Linked DNA regions of Homo sapiens: regions 2, 3 and 4 are each linked to region 1. The links are contacts of gene promoters, found by promoter capture Hi-C in blood cells and fetal thymus (Javierre and others, 2016). All regions are on one chromosome and are shown on one strand. Each heading gives the region's core, a stretch centred on a gene start or on the middle of the fragment in contact. The rest is flanking DNA. Distances are from core to core; before and after follow the strand shown. Region 1 holds the start of SNAPC1 (small nuclear RNA activating complex polypeptide 1). Region 2 overlaps LINC03033 (long intergenic non-protein coding RNA 3033). Region 3 overlaps LINC03033 (long intergenic non-protein coding RNA 3033). Region 4 overlaps LINC03033 (long intergenic non-protein coding RNA 3033).

What was found. Contacts are between HindIII fragments. The CHiCAGO score rates a contact against its expected background, and 5 or more counts as called.
Region 2: a fragment that was not itself captured here is called in contact with the fragment with the promoter of SNAPC1 in region 1 in 1 of 17 cell types (neutrophils); the score reaches 9.4 in neutrophils.
Region 3: a contact is called between a fragment that was not itself captured here and the fragment with the promoter of SNAPC1 in region 1, in 1 of 17 cell types (neutrophils). The highest score is 5.8, in neutrophils.
Region 4: a contact is called between a fragment that was not itself captured here and the fragment with the promoter of SNAPC1 in region 1, in 1 of 17 cell types (neutrophils). The highest score is 10.9, in neutrophils.

What each region holds. Positions count from the first base shown.
Region 1 is chr14:61,760,525-61,764,273 of GRCh38, reverse strand. SNAPC1 (small nuclear RNA activating complex polypeptide 1) reads right to left here and starts at 1,854. Exons shown (of 10, transcript NM_003082.4): 1 at 1,686-1,854. The coding sequence starts at 1,813. RefSeq lists enhancers at 884-1,627, 1,628-2,371, 2,439-2,528, 2,372-3,115, 3,116-3,749. The HindIII fragment of the contact is 7,963 bases long and covers 1-3,749 here.
Region 2 is chr14:61,589,348-61,593,096 of GRCh38, reverse strand. All of the region lies in intron 1 of LINC03033 (long intergenic non-protein coding RNA 3033), which reads right to left. Among named protein-coding and RNA genes, the nearest start is that of LINC01303, 21 kb to the right of the region's middle. The HindIII fragment of the contact is 4,871 bases long and covers 1-3,749 here.
Region 3 is chr14:61,605,978-61,609,726 of GRCh38, reverse strand. All of the region lies in intron 1 of LINC03033 (long intergenic non-protein coding RNA 3033), which reads right to left. Among named protein-coding and RNA genes, the nearest start is that of LINC01303, 37 kb to the right of the region's middle. RefSeq lists enhancers at 1-403, 852-1,601, 1,602-2,352. The HindIII fragment of the contact is 369 bases long and covers 1,499-1,867 here.
Region 4 is chr14:61,625,071-61,628,819 of GRCh38, reverse strand. All of the region lies in intron 1 of LINC03033 (long intergenic non-protein coding RNA 3033), which reads right to left. Among named protein-coding and RNA genes, the nearest start is that of LINC01303, 56 kb to the right of the region's middle. The HindIII fragment of the contact is 5,067 bases long and covers 1-3,749 here.

The DNA.
Region 1 (3,749 bases), core at 605-3,104:
TATTTCGCCTTTTTAATATTATATGTACTATGGTAATAAAAATAGATTCATCCAGTCACTGTCCTCACAGAGGTCAGTCTAGTCAAAGGAAAATTTTAAAACGGTAGTAATAATGAACATTTGACCAGCCTGGCCAACATGGTGAAATCCCGTCTCTACTAAAAATACAAAAATTAGCCAGGCTTGGTGGCACAAGCCGTAGTCCCAGCTACTCGGGAGGCTGAGGCAGGAGAATCTCTTGAACCCGGGAGGTGGAGGTTGCAGTGATAGGAGATCGCACCATTACACTCCAGCCTGGGTGACAGAGCAAGACTATGTCTCAAGAAAAAAAAATAATAATAATGAACATTTATTGAGCACTTAGAATGTATTTCTGATATATCAGCTCATTTAATCTTCACAACTACTATGAGGTTTATCATTGCCTCTATTTTACAGATATGGAAACTCAAGTAACTTGCCCCAAGTCATAGCGGACCCTGCAATCAAATGCAGCCAATTGGGTTCCATAACCTATGCCCTTAACAATCCCACACTGCCTTTTCAACTATACCATTACAACAAAATGTGGAAAGCGGTGACATAAAATAAAAACAGGGTGCTATGCGGGGAAAAAACATGAACAGCGTACTCAGTCTAGAAGAGCAAAAAAGACTTCCCCCGAGGATGTCATTTGAGCTTAACCCTGAGTGAAGAATAAGGTGGACAAAACAAGAGAGTTGCGGTGGAAACTCCAGGATTAGGAAAAGCCTGTAGAGGGCCCAAAGAAAAAAAAAAAAAAAAAAAAGCAGCTGCTGGAGCAAGAAAGTGAGTGCATGGAGGGGACTGGCAGGCGAAGCTGGAGAGATAGGCAAAGGCCAGTGAGGAATGGTCTTGGCAAGTCAGAGAATTCAAGCGTTATCCCAAAGGCAATGGGCACCACTACAGAGTAATAAGTCGGGGAGTGACATAATCAAATTTGCACTTTTGAAAAACAACTTTTGGGCCGGGCGCGGTGGCTCACTCCTGTAATCCTAGCGCTTTGGGAGGCCGAGGCGGGCGGGTCACGAGATCAGGAGTTCGAGGCCAGTCTGGCCAACATAGTAAAACCCCGTCTCTACTAAAAATACAAAAAATTAACCGGGCGTGGTGCCGGGCACCTGTAATCCCAGCTACTCCGGAGGTTGAGGCAAGAGAATCACTTGAACCTGAGAGGCGAAGGGTTGCACTGAGCCGCGAACGCGCCATTGCACTCCAGCCTGGGCGACAAAAGGAGACTCCGTCTCAAAAAAAAAAAAAAAAAAAAAAAAAAAGACAACTTTGGTTGTTGGAGGAAAAATTAATTCAATCTTGAAGGGTTTTGTCTTTGCTTGTGTGTTTTTAAACATCAGGTCCTAGAACAAGACTGGGGAAGGGCAAATGATAGTGGCCTGGCTCAGGGTGGAGATGGGAGAGAGGAGTTTAGAAGGGAGGCCAGGCAGAGACGCATATTTGGGAGGAGGCCGCAACAACCATCAGGGCACAATGAAATAGAGCAGGGAAAGCGCGTTGCCTGAGCACAGGGGAAGGTCCAGGAGTCATGGAGGCAACCTTCGGTGACTGCCGCTCTTCTCAGCCCTTCACAAGTGCAATATCGCCGGGAAGGAGGCAACTTTCTACACCACCTGCGGGCAGGGAGAGGCGGGTGGTGGACAAGAAACACCCACCAGAAGATAGTCCCGAACTTCATGTTTCTCCAGAGCTCCGTGAAGTCCTCGAAGCGTACACTGTCCGTCTCCTGGAAGCGGCTGAGCAGCGCCTCGCAGTCGGTCTGCAGGCCGGGAGGAGTCCCCATGGCACCCGAAGCCCGCACGCCTCCGAAGCCCGCACGCCTCTAACGGACTAGCCAGCGGTGGTCGCCCAGGAAACCAAGCCCGAACGGCCCGCCCCCTACGGCGTGCGCACACGCGCTCCGTGATGCATTATCCGGCACCTTTAGCTCCGCCTTTATCCGGGCTCTTGCCACCGGTCGTGTGCTTACTGCGCGTGCGTGAAAGCGTTCTGATGTTTTACTGGCTGAGATTGCTTTCACCCAGAGTGCTGAGATCCACCCTTCTTTGGAAGAGGTTTACGTCTAAAGTGTTGTGTTTGCTCACGAGCGGTTTTAGGTCTTCATTTTCCGCTAGGTTATGTAACTTGACTTTACCCTTACTAGCACTCTCCTTTAAACTGACCCTAGTGTGACATAAGTGAACTTTTGAGCTAGGAAAGAACAGTCCCAACCCCAACCCCACTCCCACTTGGGAAGAGAAGCTAAAGAAGGCTTGCTAGGAAACAAACTGCACTCATTCTCCTTCTGGTCATCGAGAACCCTAATACTCTGTACCCACATAATACGATGCTTAATGTGCGGCCCTCTCTTTGTAGCCCTGGCATTCTGCAACCACTCTTGAAAAGAAGAGCTGCATTTCATACCCTCTTGTAAACAGCCCTCCTCCTGCCCTGCCACGCATTCACCCCTGTGCTACATAGCACTTAGCAGAAAATACCTACTTGTTATATTCTTGTTATATTATTATTTGGATGAATTGCCTTTTTGTGTACACGCTGCCACCTAGCTTCCTTCCTCCAGGAGCTAGCTATGGAGTAACATTTTGAACTTTAGATCATTTCTCTGATTGAAAGGTAAGCTATCATTCTTTAGAAGAGGTATCCTGATATAATAGAAAAACATTGGGCTTTCTGTGTGTAAATGGAGTGTCAACTCACTTTACTTTTCTGATCCTTGACCTGTTTTTGTTTGTTTGTTTGTTTGTTTGGATTTGTTTGTTTTTTGTTTTGAGACGGAGTTTCGCTCTTGTTGCCCAGGCCGGAGTTCAGTGGCGCGGTCTCGGTTCACTGCAACTTCCGCCTCCCGAGTTCAAGCGATTCTCCTGCCTCAGCCTCCCGAGTAGCTGGGATTACAGGCATGCACCACTCCAACCGGATTTTGTTTTGTTTTGTTTTGTTTGTATTTTTAGTAGAGACAGGGTTTCACCATGTTGGCCAGGCTGGTCTCGAACTGCTAACCTCAGGTGATCCGCTCCCCTCGGCCTCCCAAAGTGTTGGGATTACAGACGTGAGCCACTGCACCCTGCCCTCTTGACCTGTTTTTTAAATGTTATGTAATATTTTATGTCACAGAAAAATTTATGCGATGTGTGAGATAAAAAGCATAGCAGTTAAACACCTGTACACCTTTCACCTGTGTAGGAACCAGAACATTACCAACGCCTTCACATCAATCTGCGATTTCCTCCTCTGACCTATTCCTTTGACTGTACCCTACTTTAATCACAGCTACTGGTTGGGCACGGTGGCTCACGCCTGAAATCCCAACACTTTGGGAGACAAAAGCAAGAGGATTGCTTAAGCACAAGAGTTGGAGACCAGCCTGGGAAACATGGTGAAAATTAGCCGGGCATGGTGGTGCACACCTGTAGTCCCAGCTACTCGGGAGGCTGAGGTGGGAGGATCATTTGAGCCTGGGAGATGGTGGTTACAGGAGACAGAGGTTGCAGTGGTGAGCCGAGATCGTGCCACTGCACTCCATCCTGGGCTACGGAGTGAGACCGAATCTCAAAAAATAAATAAATAACTACCTTGAATTTTGTTTCTCTTTCTCATGTATATATTTTATCACATATGTATGTATATTTAAACGGTATATTTTTTAGTTGTGGTTGGTTTTGAGTTTTATGAAAATGGTATTGCAACTGGCTGGGCGCAGTGGCTCACGCCTGTAATCCCAG
Region 2 (3,749 bases), core at 466-2,965, 170 kb after region 1:
CTATATTACTTGATTTTAACTTCACAATACTATTGTGAGAAGATAGCGTTTTCCAAATTTTACACACAAAACCCAAATACTTTTTAAGTTACTTGTCCAAGGTCACACAGCAAGTATTTTTAAGAGCAGGACTCAAACCTGGTTCTTTCAATTTCAGTATTTTATGTTAATATATAACATGCCCTTGGTACCTATGTTTGGCAGACTCCATAACACATCATATTTATTCCTTATATTTTACAGCATTTCTTTTTTTCCAGATGTGCTATGTTAATTCATGTGATACAATAACTTTCTGAGGTAGGTGGGGCAAGTACTCATCTCATTTTTACAGATAAGTGAGTAGGTTTCCAGTGGCTAAATGACACATATCATTAGTAGAATGGCTCAAGATAAATTTCGGTTCTCTGCTGTCCAGGTGACTACCTGTGGTAGACAGAATGGCTCCCCAAAGATGTTTAACTCCTAACTCCCAAAACCTGTGAATATGTTACCTTACATGGCAAAAGGGACTTTGAAGATGTGGCTAATTTAAGAGCCTTGAGATAGAGAGATTATCCTGAATTATCTGGGTGGGGTTGGTGTAATCACAGGGGTTCTTATAAGAGGGAGGCAGGTGGGTCAGAGTCGGGGAATGAGCTATGATGATGGAAGCAGGGGTCATAGTCAGAGAGACAGTGGGCGAGCTTTGAAGATGCTATGCCACCAGCTTTGAAGGTGGAGGAAGGAGCCACAAGCCAAGGGATGGAGGTAGCCTCTAGAAGCTGGGAAAGGCAAGGAAACAGGTACTTCCCTGCAGCCTCTGGGAGGCAAAGGCCCCGCAGACATCTTGATGCTAGGATTTCTGAGTTCCAGAACTATAAGGTAGTACATTTGTGTTGCTTTAAGCTACTAAGTTGTGGTAATTTGTTACAGCAGAAATAGGGAACTAATACACCACTCTGAACAATGACTGACCTCAGCAGAGTAGGAGACAGTCAGACTATTTCCCGTACACCCAAAACCCCAGGCCTGGAGGGAGGGGCTGGGGCAGGTCAGGAACAGGTCTTGGGATGCTGAGAGGCCAGTATGCTGCAAGCCTCTGCTGTTTCACAGGGAGATGTGGGGCCTGCTGTTCTTCTCGCTAAAGTCTTCCAGTGGCCTCCCAGGGCATGGGGAGTAAACCCCAAACCCCCTAACACAGCCCACCTTTCTAGCCTCATCTCAGCCCATCTCTCCCTCAGTTACCACACTGCAGATGTTCCTGCCTTCTTCCTGCTGCTAGTCTCACCTTAGAATCTCACAGGGAACCTTCTGATCACCTCCTCAGAGAGCATTTACCTGACCACCTCTCCAAAGTGTCCCCCAGTCATTCTCTGACAACTACTTTTATTGTCTTTATAATGCCCGGTAATACCCGTGACTTTATTTTTAAATATATTTTTTAATTTTTAGTTCTGGGGTACATGTGCAGGATGTGCAGGTTTGTTACACAGGTAAACATGCGCCATAGTGGTTTATTGCACCTGTCGACTCATCACCTAGGTATTAAGCCCAGCATACATTAGCCATCTTTTCTAATACTCTCCCTCCCCCCACCCCATCCCCCAACAGGCCCCAGTGTTGTTCACTCATGTTGTCTGTGTCCCTCAATAAAATGTATACCCATGAGAACTATCCATGTCACGGCTCTGTCCCAAGTGCCTGAGTATGTTTCCCATTCAAAAAGTATTTGTTGAATGGATGAATAGACCTGAGGCAGCCTTCCAACAGGAGCACCTGCTTTCTTCCGGCATCATCTCTAGCCCTGCAAGAGGAGCTTCTGCTTAGATAGGAATGCTGAGAACCATCAGAATCTTTTCTCTGCAGGATTCCTGGCTGCCTTTAGACATAAGCCTGGCGCTCACATCTGGGCCATGGTGTGCTCCTGTTGAACATAATTTCCATAGAACACCAACATCAGATACAGCCGCTCTGTGACTGTAATGGAGCAAAAGAAAACAAGATGATCCCATAATCATGTCTAGACCCAGACAAAAATAAGAACATTGTCCGAACCACAAGAATGACCAAAGATGCTCCTTTCCTGGCTAATATGAGCAACTTCTGCTTCTTTATTAATTACACCTTTAGCCTCATCTCATTCCTTCTGCCTTCTAGGTAAGAATTATTAAGATACCCAGTCCTAGAATTACCTCTGCTTCCTGATAACATCCAAAATCCAGAGCAATCTCCCACTTCCCTGAATCCTCCCCAGTATCACCTAAGCCCAAATCCTACAAGAAGTCCTTTATCACATCCTCTTACTGAGCTGCCCCATGGCTCCCCGTGCTATCTGTGTGTTATTCCTCATTGCAACTAGTCCATAAACCCAACATTGTCTGACTTCAGTTCTCTAGCAGGAGGACTGGAGGACTGACTTCAGTTCTCTAGCAGGAGGATTGGCAAAGTGGACTGGAAGGCAGGCCCAACTTTTTTGCTATCTGTGAGGGAGAAATCCTAATTGGGCCAACTGGTCAGCTAGAAAATCCTGAACTGCTTTGCCAATGAAACAATAATACTGGATGCATCCGGGTGCACATTACCCAACTGGCACAAGACAGAGGCTGGTGGGGTTCCTGGTGGAGCTGCTTCCTTATAGGTGCATGGCAGGAAGGGGCCCAGCAGGTGCAGCTGTGGCCTGCCTGGCTGGCCTCAGAGGTGCCTCTGCCCAAGCCACAGCTGCTCCCCACTGCTAATCTATCCAAGTCAATCTCAACACAGTTCGAAAGCCCCTCCTGCTTGCACTCATTTCCTGTGCTTCTTACATTCCCCCTCAGACTCTTCTCCCTGCCTGAGCTAATCTTGTTGATCCCCCCACCACCTCCCGCCTCCACGCCGCCCCACAGCCTGCACCTCTGTCACAGGTCTGTGCATCTGCACCAGCGGGGGTCTGGCCTCTGGCCTCCGTCCGCTTTTAAAGCCTTGCTTGATGATTAACCCACATCTTCCCCAAAGGCTTCTTGGCTGAGCCCAGTTGGCTGCCCAAGTTGATAGCAGCTGCTGTCAACATTTACAAAGGGAGCTCCAGTGATGGTAGCTGACTGGGGTGATTTACGGGGTTTGGCCGTGGTGGGAGTGGGGTTCACATAATTCATCTCCACACGTAGAGCCTCAACTTCCCCAGGGCAGAGGTTTTTTTCTTTTCCCCCTGGGTTTTTGACCACTTCCTCCCCAGTACCCAGAAGCTGAAAAGCCAGTGCTCAGCACTCCAGAGGCTCAGTGCCCTATGAGAAGGCCAGTCAAGAAGAGACTGTCTCCTACAGGACTGGGGAATGATACCTGCTTCTCAGGTGATCAATGCCTGCCGCTGGCAGGAATTGTCAGGGATTCTAGAAGCATGTCCATTATCTTGATGGGCCCAAGTTGTTTGTTCCTAACTCTGAGCTTCATGGCTTTCTATCCACAAAATCTTGATCCTGGGATATTTTTATTTCTCAATCTAGACATCTGCCAGCCTGTCTGACTACTGCAGGGCCCAGCTCACTTTAGTTAGGGGTGACAGTTAATCTCTGATGTCTTTCTCATCAACCTCCTCAGGTAAACATGATGACTCTTTAGAGAGCAAGGTCAAAATTACATCCAAACAGATTTATATTAAAGGAGGGTATTGGGATAAAGGATGCTCTATTACCTTACAGAGAACCAGGTTAATCTAAATGCACAGACGTGGGGAAATGCCCAAGATAGGATGTTAAGTGAAAAAAGCAAAGGTTGCAAAATAATATACA
Region 3 (3,749 bases), core at 434-2,933, 150 kb after region 1:
TATCTATCCAAAAGATCAACAAAGATGAAAACAGACAGCTTCCTACTAGGGAAGTCTTAGTGTGGCTCATTGTTATGCCAATGCCCTGTGTTCAGGATCCAGCAGGAAGGTTGTGAGCCCAGGGCCCTGTGGCCCAGTTAATTGTCCGCGGCTCAGCCCTGGCCAGCTGCCTCGGAAATGAATGCCTTTGGCCATACTGGCAAGACAGACAGGAGAGTCATCAGTTTAGATCACATTCATTGCTCTTGTGAGAAAGACAAGAAAAAATACACAGTCTGCCCATGATGTGTCCTCATCTCGTGAAAGATAGGACACTACTGAGTAAAATCAGATTCCCATCCGAAAAGCACATCTTCCGCTAATTAGGCACATTAGCTTTGTGCAAGGTCGGGTGTAAAATAACTTTCATTTCACTCGTTTCAGAAGACAGGGCAGATGAGGGCAAGAGGATATGCCCCACATAACAAGAGCTATTGTTCGGTTTTTCAGGAAGCCATGGCCTGAACAAGGCATTGGGGTTTTCACAGCTGGACTCACCCCAAAAAGATGATTTTATAAATAGTGTTTTTGTTTTTTACCTTTTCAACTTCATTAGAAAATACAAGGTTTACCTAACCCTAACCCCCAGACGAATAGACATAATGAATTCCCAGACATATAGACTTGGCAGTGACTGCTTCACCCCTGAATGGTTGCTTTGCACTAAGCACTTCTGACACTAATGTTCATGCTTAAGCAAACACATTACTAGGAGAGAAGAATAGCTCTGTCAGCCTGCCCAGGCCACTCAGCACAATGGGAGCTGCAGCTGCCCTGGATCTCATTAAAACAGGGGCAGGGAGAACGGTCCTGTAGACGCACATGGGGATTCTCAGATTCACAGACCTTTGCTTACACATCACACACCATCAGCATCAAACAGCTGACTTCAAGAAGTTCCTAAGAAAGAAAGCTTTACTGGTTATTAATAAGCCTGAAATATTTGTGTCTCTGGATTCTCTGCCAGTCTTCTTTTTCTCTTTGGTTCTTTTCTCTTTACATGACAATACTCACATTTGCAAAATGAGGTGTGTTAGAGAATCAGATGATTTCTAGAGAGAGCTATGTTTGGGACCATTTCTTAATCTTTTCCACCTTTGGAGTGTCTGTGTTCACGTTAGCATTTCTGTCTGGAGTTATGAATTATGCTGTCAAAAGGAGTTTCAAACTGGGTTTGTTACCTGGATACCCACAAATATGCACGGTCTGTTTGTATAAATCTGAAAAACCTTCCTTGTCCTTAGGAAACCAGGCCATTCTGCACATTAGGAAGGGGACAGTGAATCCAGGCTTCCGTTAGTTCTCTGGGCCAGTTGGGGAACAGTGCCTGGATAAATAACAGTAGGAGTCCAGAGTCCGTTCTTGACTGGGGTGGCTGTAATCCATTCACAGGGAGGGAGACGTCTCTGGCTGGAGATGCAGGGCTGAGCATGCCATCAGACACCCCTAAAGGCAAGCTTAAGACCACATCCCATCTGCCTACAATCATAGCAGTCACTATCCCCTCCACATGGTACACAATATGCCTCAGAACAGTCCAGCTCTTAAAGCACAGGCCAGAGGCAGGGACCAAAGGAGGCAAGAGCAATGAAGACACTGGAGGGATGACGGGGTTCTGTGGCTCGACTCCTGGACCATCTGCACCCAGAGTCCACCAGATCTGCCAGGAGAAGGCTCAGCAGTGCTTCTCTCATCGGAACAGACTCAAGCATTGGCATCTGACAATGTCCCCCATATGTCATTCTCACTCTTTTCATAGCCCACCTCCCCCCAACCCACAGCCCAACCTGGAGAAGCCCACTGTGAGTCTGGATGGTCACATCAAGCTTAGGACCCCTGGTGGCACTACGCACAGCAGCATCCTCATGAAGAAAAAGCCCCCCAGTGGCTTCCTGTCTCTCCAGACACGCTCCCCAGACGGCAGTTGTCAGTTTCCATCACCCAAACCCCTTCAGGCCAGGCCCACTAAGATTGGCTCACAAAAAAAGGGAGGGGAGAGAGGCAGCTGCTGCTGACAGGGCCAGCTGCTTCAGAGTCATTTCCTTGCTGCCGGTGCTGGGCAGATGTTCTACTGCCATTTCCCTTGCTACTAACTTCTGATCACTCTCCTGGTAGCTTGATTTTACCTAGTTGAAGGTGTCTCCAAGTGCAGCCTGTGGTCCACTTATAGGAGAATCACCTGGGATGCATGTTTAAAGTGCAGGTTCAGAATCTCTGTGTGTGGGACCCTCAAATTTGTTCTTTTAACAGATACCTCAGATGATTCTCATGCACATAAACATTTCAGAGACACTGAAGTTCTGTGACCACTGGCTCTATGTATTTACATTTTATTTAATTTGGACCTCAGGAGAATAGAGTAAATTACTCACTTCACGTACCACGGCCATCATCAATATGCTTTGGTGACCCGTCCACGCTGCTATATGTAAATCTCCTTTCCCGCTTCTGGCTTGAATAGTGGCCCATCTTGTATTTGTTTATGTTTAACTAAACCATTGCTTTATTAACAAACATCAGTCCTTGTTTACATACATACATACACACACACACACACACACACACACACGCACCATGATGGACAGCTTTACATGTATTCTTATGATCTGCACATCAGTGTTTTCTTGGGCACATACTCAGGGCCAAGAATGCATCCTTGATTTCTCTAGGGACTCCTAGATTGCTCTGCAGGATGGCTGCATTTATTTCCACCCCTCTAGCAGTGTCTTTGTTATACTTGATTTTATCCGACTTTCTCTAAAGTGATCTCTCATTGATGTTTTAATTTGTATTTCTCTGATTGCTAGTAATGTTTAGCATCTTTGTATACACTTATTGGCCATTAAGAGGTTTCCTCTTGTATATTTTGCCTGTTTTCCCTTTTTATTACTGTTTCGCAGGATTTCCTAGATCTACATTCTTTGGTTTGGGATGTCAGTAACATCTTCTTCCAGTTTACCTGTTGACTTTGTCTGTAGTATTTGTTGGAATAAATCTTTAATTTTGTTTTGTAGACAAATCCGTATTTTTTTCTCCTCCTTATGGTTTGTACTTTCGGGTTTTTCTTTAGAAATGCCTCCACTCAAAAGTCACAGAGATATTCACGCATATTATTTCCTATCACTATAAACTGTTATATTAAACGTTTGGGCATTTAATCCATTGGGGTTTCTTTTTAAATTGTCTGAGGTGGGGCTGAATGGAGGCAATTTTCCCATCACCATGTACTACTTAATCTATTGCTTCTGTAGTGATTTGTGATGCCCCCTCTATCATATAACATGTTCTCCTCTATAGCTGGGTCTAATTCTGGGTTCTGTATTCTGTTCTCCTGGTCAACTTGACTTTTTTCCCCTTTTCTTAATCATGGCTTTGTGATGTGCCTTAATATCTAGCAAGGCAAATTTCCTTTTTGCCTACACTTAAAAAATTAGCTGTCTGTGGATATTTATTCTTCATATGAATTTTAAAATTGTTTTTCAAAGTCCTAAAAACTTGGGGTGGGCATTTTACTTGAATTGCATTGGATCTACAGCTTCAGTTTGGGAAGAACTGATATTCTTAAAATGTTAAATTGTTCCACACAATCAGCATATCACTCCATTTATTCAAGTCTTTGCTTATATCTATTATTGGAATTAAAATTTTCTCCAAAAAGTCTTGTGCATTATTGTCAGATTATTTCCTAGATTTAAATTTTTCCTTTCCCA
Region 4 (3,749 bases), core at 888-3,387, 140 kb after region 1:
AGTGTAGGGAGTGCACTGGGATCTGCAGCAACTGGCTTTTATTGTCAAATATACCCCACAATGTTGTCTAAGGCTCTTCCCAAGCCTTCACAAAGAAGCAGAGCCCTATTGCCCTGATGTGGGATACATATACCAAAAGCCCAGAAGCCAAGTGACACAGACATCATTTTGTTTAGCAAATGATGGGCAGAAATTCAGGGGTTAGGCAAGCTGCATGGGGAAATGATTACAAAAGAGAGTCAATGAGGCCATTTCAAACTTTCTACCTTTTCCTTCAAGAAAAATTTCACTCCAGCTCTGACCCAAGAAAACACATTTAGCCCAAGCATAATCTTCCAAGTTAAGGCAACCCGTTCTCCTTAGAAACCAGTCTATCAAACCACCTGTTATTACCACAGCATGGCTTTTGGAGAGGGAGGGTGTCTCTCATCCTCTTTTTCCTCTCTCCATCCTACTCCAAATGACTCATCGAAATTCTTCTACTAACACATACAGTGTTCCTCCTGCGAAGATTTCTAGGTAATACTGTTTTCTCTGTCTTGTTGCATTTTCTGCCATGTCTGCTCTAGCCCAGTGATGTATCAATGCACCTTATTGATTGGCAGCTGCCCCAGGGGCCCTTTCATCCAGCTTTAACCAGTTCCAAAGCATGTGACTGCCCTCCTCTTAGGCAGTTGAGAACCATTATATTAGAATTAGAGAGAGAGAGAGAACCAAAATTCTGCAGATGACCACCCCAAAATATTGTTGTGTTGCTATAATTGGGAACTTTTGTGCCCATGGTGGATGAGGTTTGAGCAAACAAAGGTAAAAGTTGTGGGCGATGGAGTAAATAGATTAATGCTTTTCGTCATCTCCCTAAGCATCCTGAGCATGTGTATTTGCCAGGGTCACAGCAGGAAACAGGTGGCACTCAAAGTGCATGATTAGAGAAAGGTTAATGAAGAGAATATATACAAGTGTAAGGGTAGAGTTGAGGGAAACCAAGAGAGGATAGTGAAACCCTCCTATGCTAGCAGCAGCAGAGACTGTTACCACCTCTATGACCTCCAGGCCTAAGAGGCAAGAGGATGGAGAGGTTACAGCAACCTGGAGAAGTTCACCCAACAGGAGCTGTGGCATTTGGTTGAGGAACACAGCCATTGTCAAATCTGACCTGGCAAGGAAGAAACAACCTCTCTCTCTTCCTTTCTTCTAATCTTTTGCTGGTGGTGCTCACAGCTCAATCCCAATCAGAAACCCAAGAGATGGGCAGCCTAACTGATGCAGTCCATAAAGGTCAACCTCTTGGGGCACAGAACAGGGTACAGACTAGATCTGAATTAAGCAAATGCAGAAGAGTGAGTGCAACATCTACCTCAGTCAATGATTACCATGTTTTTAAAATGACTGGATCTGCTCACATTATGTTAAACACAGTGTGTACACTGAGCCTAACAATGATGGCTAGCAACTTATAACTGGATATCGGGGGCACAGCATGACTAAAACTATCCCTCATGTCTATACATATTGCAGATGCATTCCATAAAATTTCTGAATTCATGTCTTAAGAAAAACTATGCTTTTTACACAAGTTCCTTAAAAGAATCATAACTACATGAAAAACATTACAGTATGCTCACTAAAGGCTATAATTAATTTTGGACAACTTATAGACTTTGAAATGCCTTGTTGAAATGCCAAAATTTCTGAAATTTTCTGAAAGAAAATTTGCCCAACAGGCAAGACAGTGGATTTTACTGTGGACTAATAGCTGTCCATGCAGCGTGATTCACCACAGCATCTGGAAGGTGCCTCCTCACTGGGCCCTGAGGTGGGACATCAAATAATTAGAAATTCCTTTTTATGGCTTAGTGGTTTCGTTGTTTTATTTTTGTAAAATGTAAATGCCCTGAGAATTAAAACATCATTTATTCATTCACTTAATTCTTTCTTCTTGAAACGTTTATTGCTACTATCTGTTAGACTTGGAGTAAAAACACGAACAAGACAGTCTTTGTCCTCAAGGTGATCAGAGTCTAATGGAGATTGGACAATGTAGTCAAGGATTCCAGAATTGGCTGATACATGCCATGGTAGAGGCATGCACAAGATCCTACGGGGGAACTATCTAACTCTTTCACGATGGATGGAGAATGGTAAGGAGGGTGATGAGAATAAAGAAAGACCCTTCACAGCTGACATAATGCCTAAACCAAAGATAAATGGGAGTGCACCAGGTAGATGAAGTAGAGACAGTGTAGAAAGGAGACTGCAGGAAAAATAGACCCTTCCTCACTTGGCCCCAGAGGATATGAAGCTAGAAGGAGACTCTAAAGTGGAATGAGGAAGGGACTTGAATGTCATTCTAAGGAATCAATGACAGGTTAAGTAGAGGAGAGACCCTCTAATATTTGGCCTGCAGAAAATCATCCTGAGGCAATGCAAGGGATTGGATGAAGGAGGCAAAACTGGAAAGTGAGTCAGTTAAGAAGGCCTTGCAATGGTTTTAGCAGAAGGTGAAAAAGTGTAAACTAATGAGTGAGAGGAGAGAGGATGGAGAGATGCCAAAAAATATTTAGTAGGAAATGAGCATGACTATTTAATCAATTCACTATGATAAAGACTAGGAGAGGGTATGAATAATTAAAGAAGAAAGATTATTATGATGCCTGCATTTTTGTCTTCGGTGACTGGGTAGAGAAGTTAGCATCGAATAAGATGAGGCATACAGGCAGAGGGGCATGTTCACAAAGGAAAATGTTGAGTTTTATCTCACATATCTTGAGAAAAAGCGTGGGAGAGAAGTCGGAGAGATGTGAATATGAGTGGTAACTAAAGCAGTGGGCCAGGAAGAGCCCTCTCAGAAACTATGGGGGGCAAGCAGAGAAGAGATTGGAAAGCTAGTCTTTTAGGAAGCACCCATATTTGAGGGTCATATTAAGGAAGAGTACATAGAGCACACAGAGATTAGAGTCAGAGATTTTAATGAAGCAGTGGTATACAATATCACATGCTACACAGACAGATCATACTAATCAGGATACATTTGGCTGCAAGTAACAGAATAGAAGTGGCTTCAGTCATTATGAATGACTTATCAAGTAGTCTGAGGTAGGTGGTCTCTTTCTGGGCTCTGTGACCCAGCAATGTCATGGAGAATCCAGACTTTTTCCATTCGTCTTCTCTGCCCACCTTCAGCGTGTAAAAAATTTCACCTTCAGGGTCATAGGCTGGACATTACAAGCAAAAAGTTTGCATGTGAGAACTTGCCAAACAGAAATCAAGGGGAGTAGAGACAATAAGTCTTTCTCCTTGTGTGCCTCATTCTTTTTCAAGGAAGAAAATATTTTCCAGGGGATGGCATCAGATTTCCCCTTATGTCTCATTGACCAAGGGTCCTTGCCCTTCCTAGATCAATGACTGACAAAATGAAGGGGGTTGCCATGACTGCCTGAGCTCAATCATGACTCATCCCTGAGGGCTGGGCAAATAAAATGGAGGCCTGTTAGCAATGTGTCTCTCCTACAGGAGCCCAGTTAGTATAGGACTGGGGAGTGTCCACTGGATTTGGCAATTAGGAGCTTACGGGTGGCCTCAGTGAGAGAAGTTTTAATGGGGGCTGAGTTAGGAAGTGGCACTGAAACCAGATTATAGTAGGTTGAAGACTGCATAGTAGTAGGCTGTAGGCTATTCCTCGACTAAATGGGAGTATGCTTATTAACCCTTTGCTGAAAACAGATTTTTATGAATGGAGAGATGGCAAA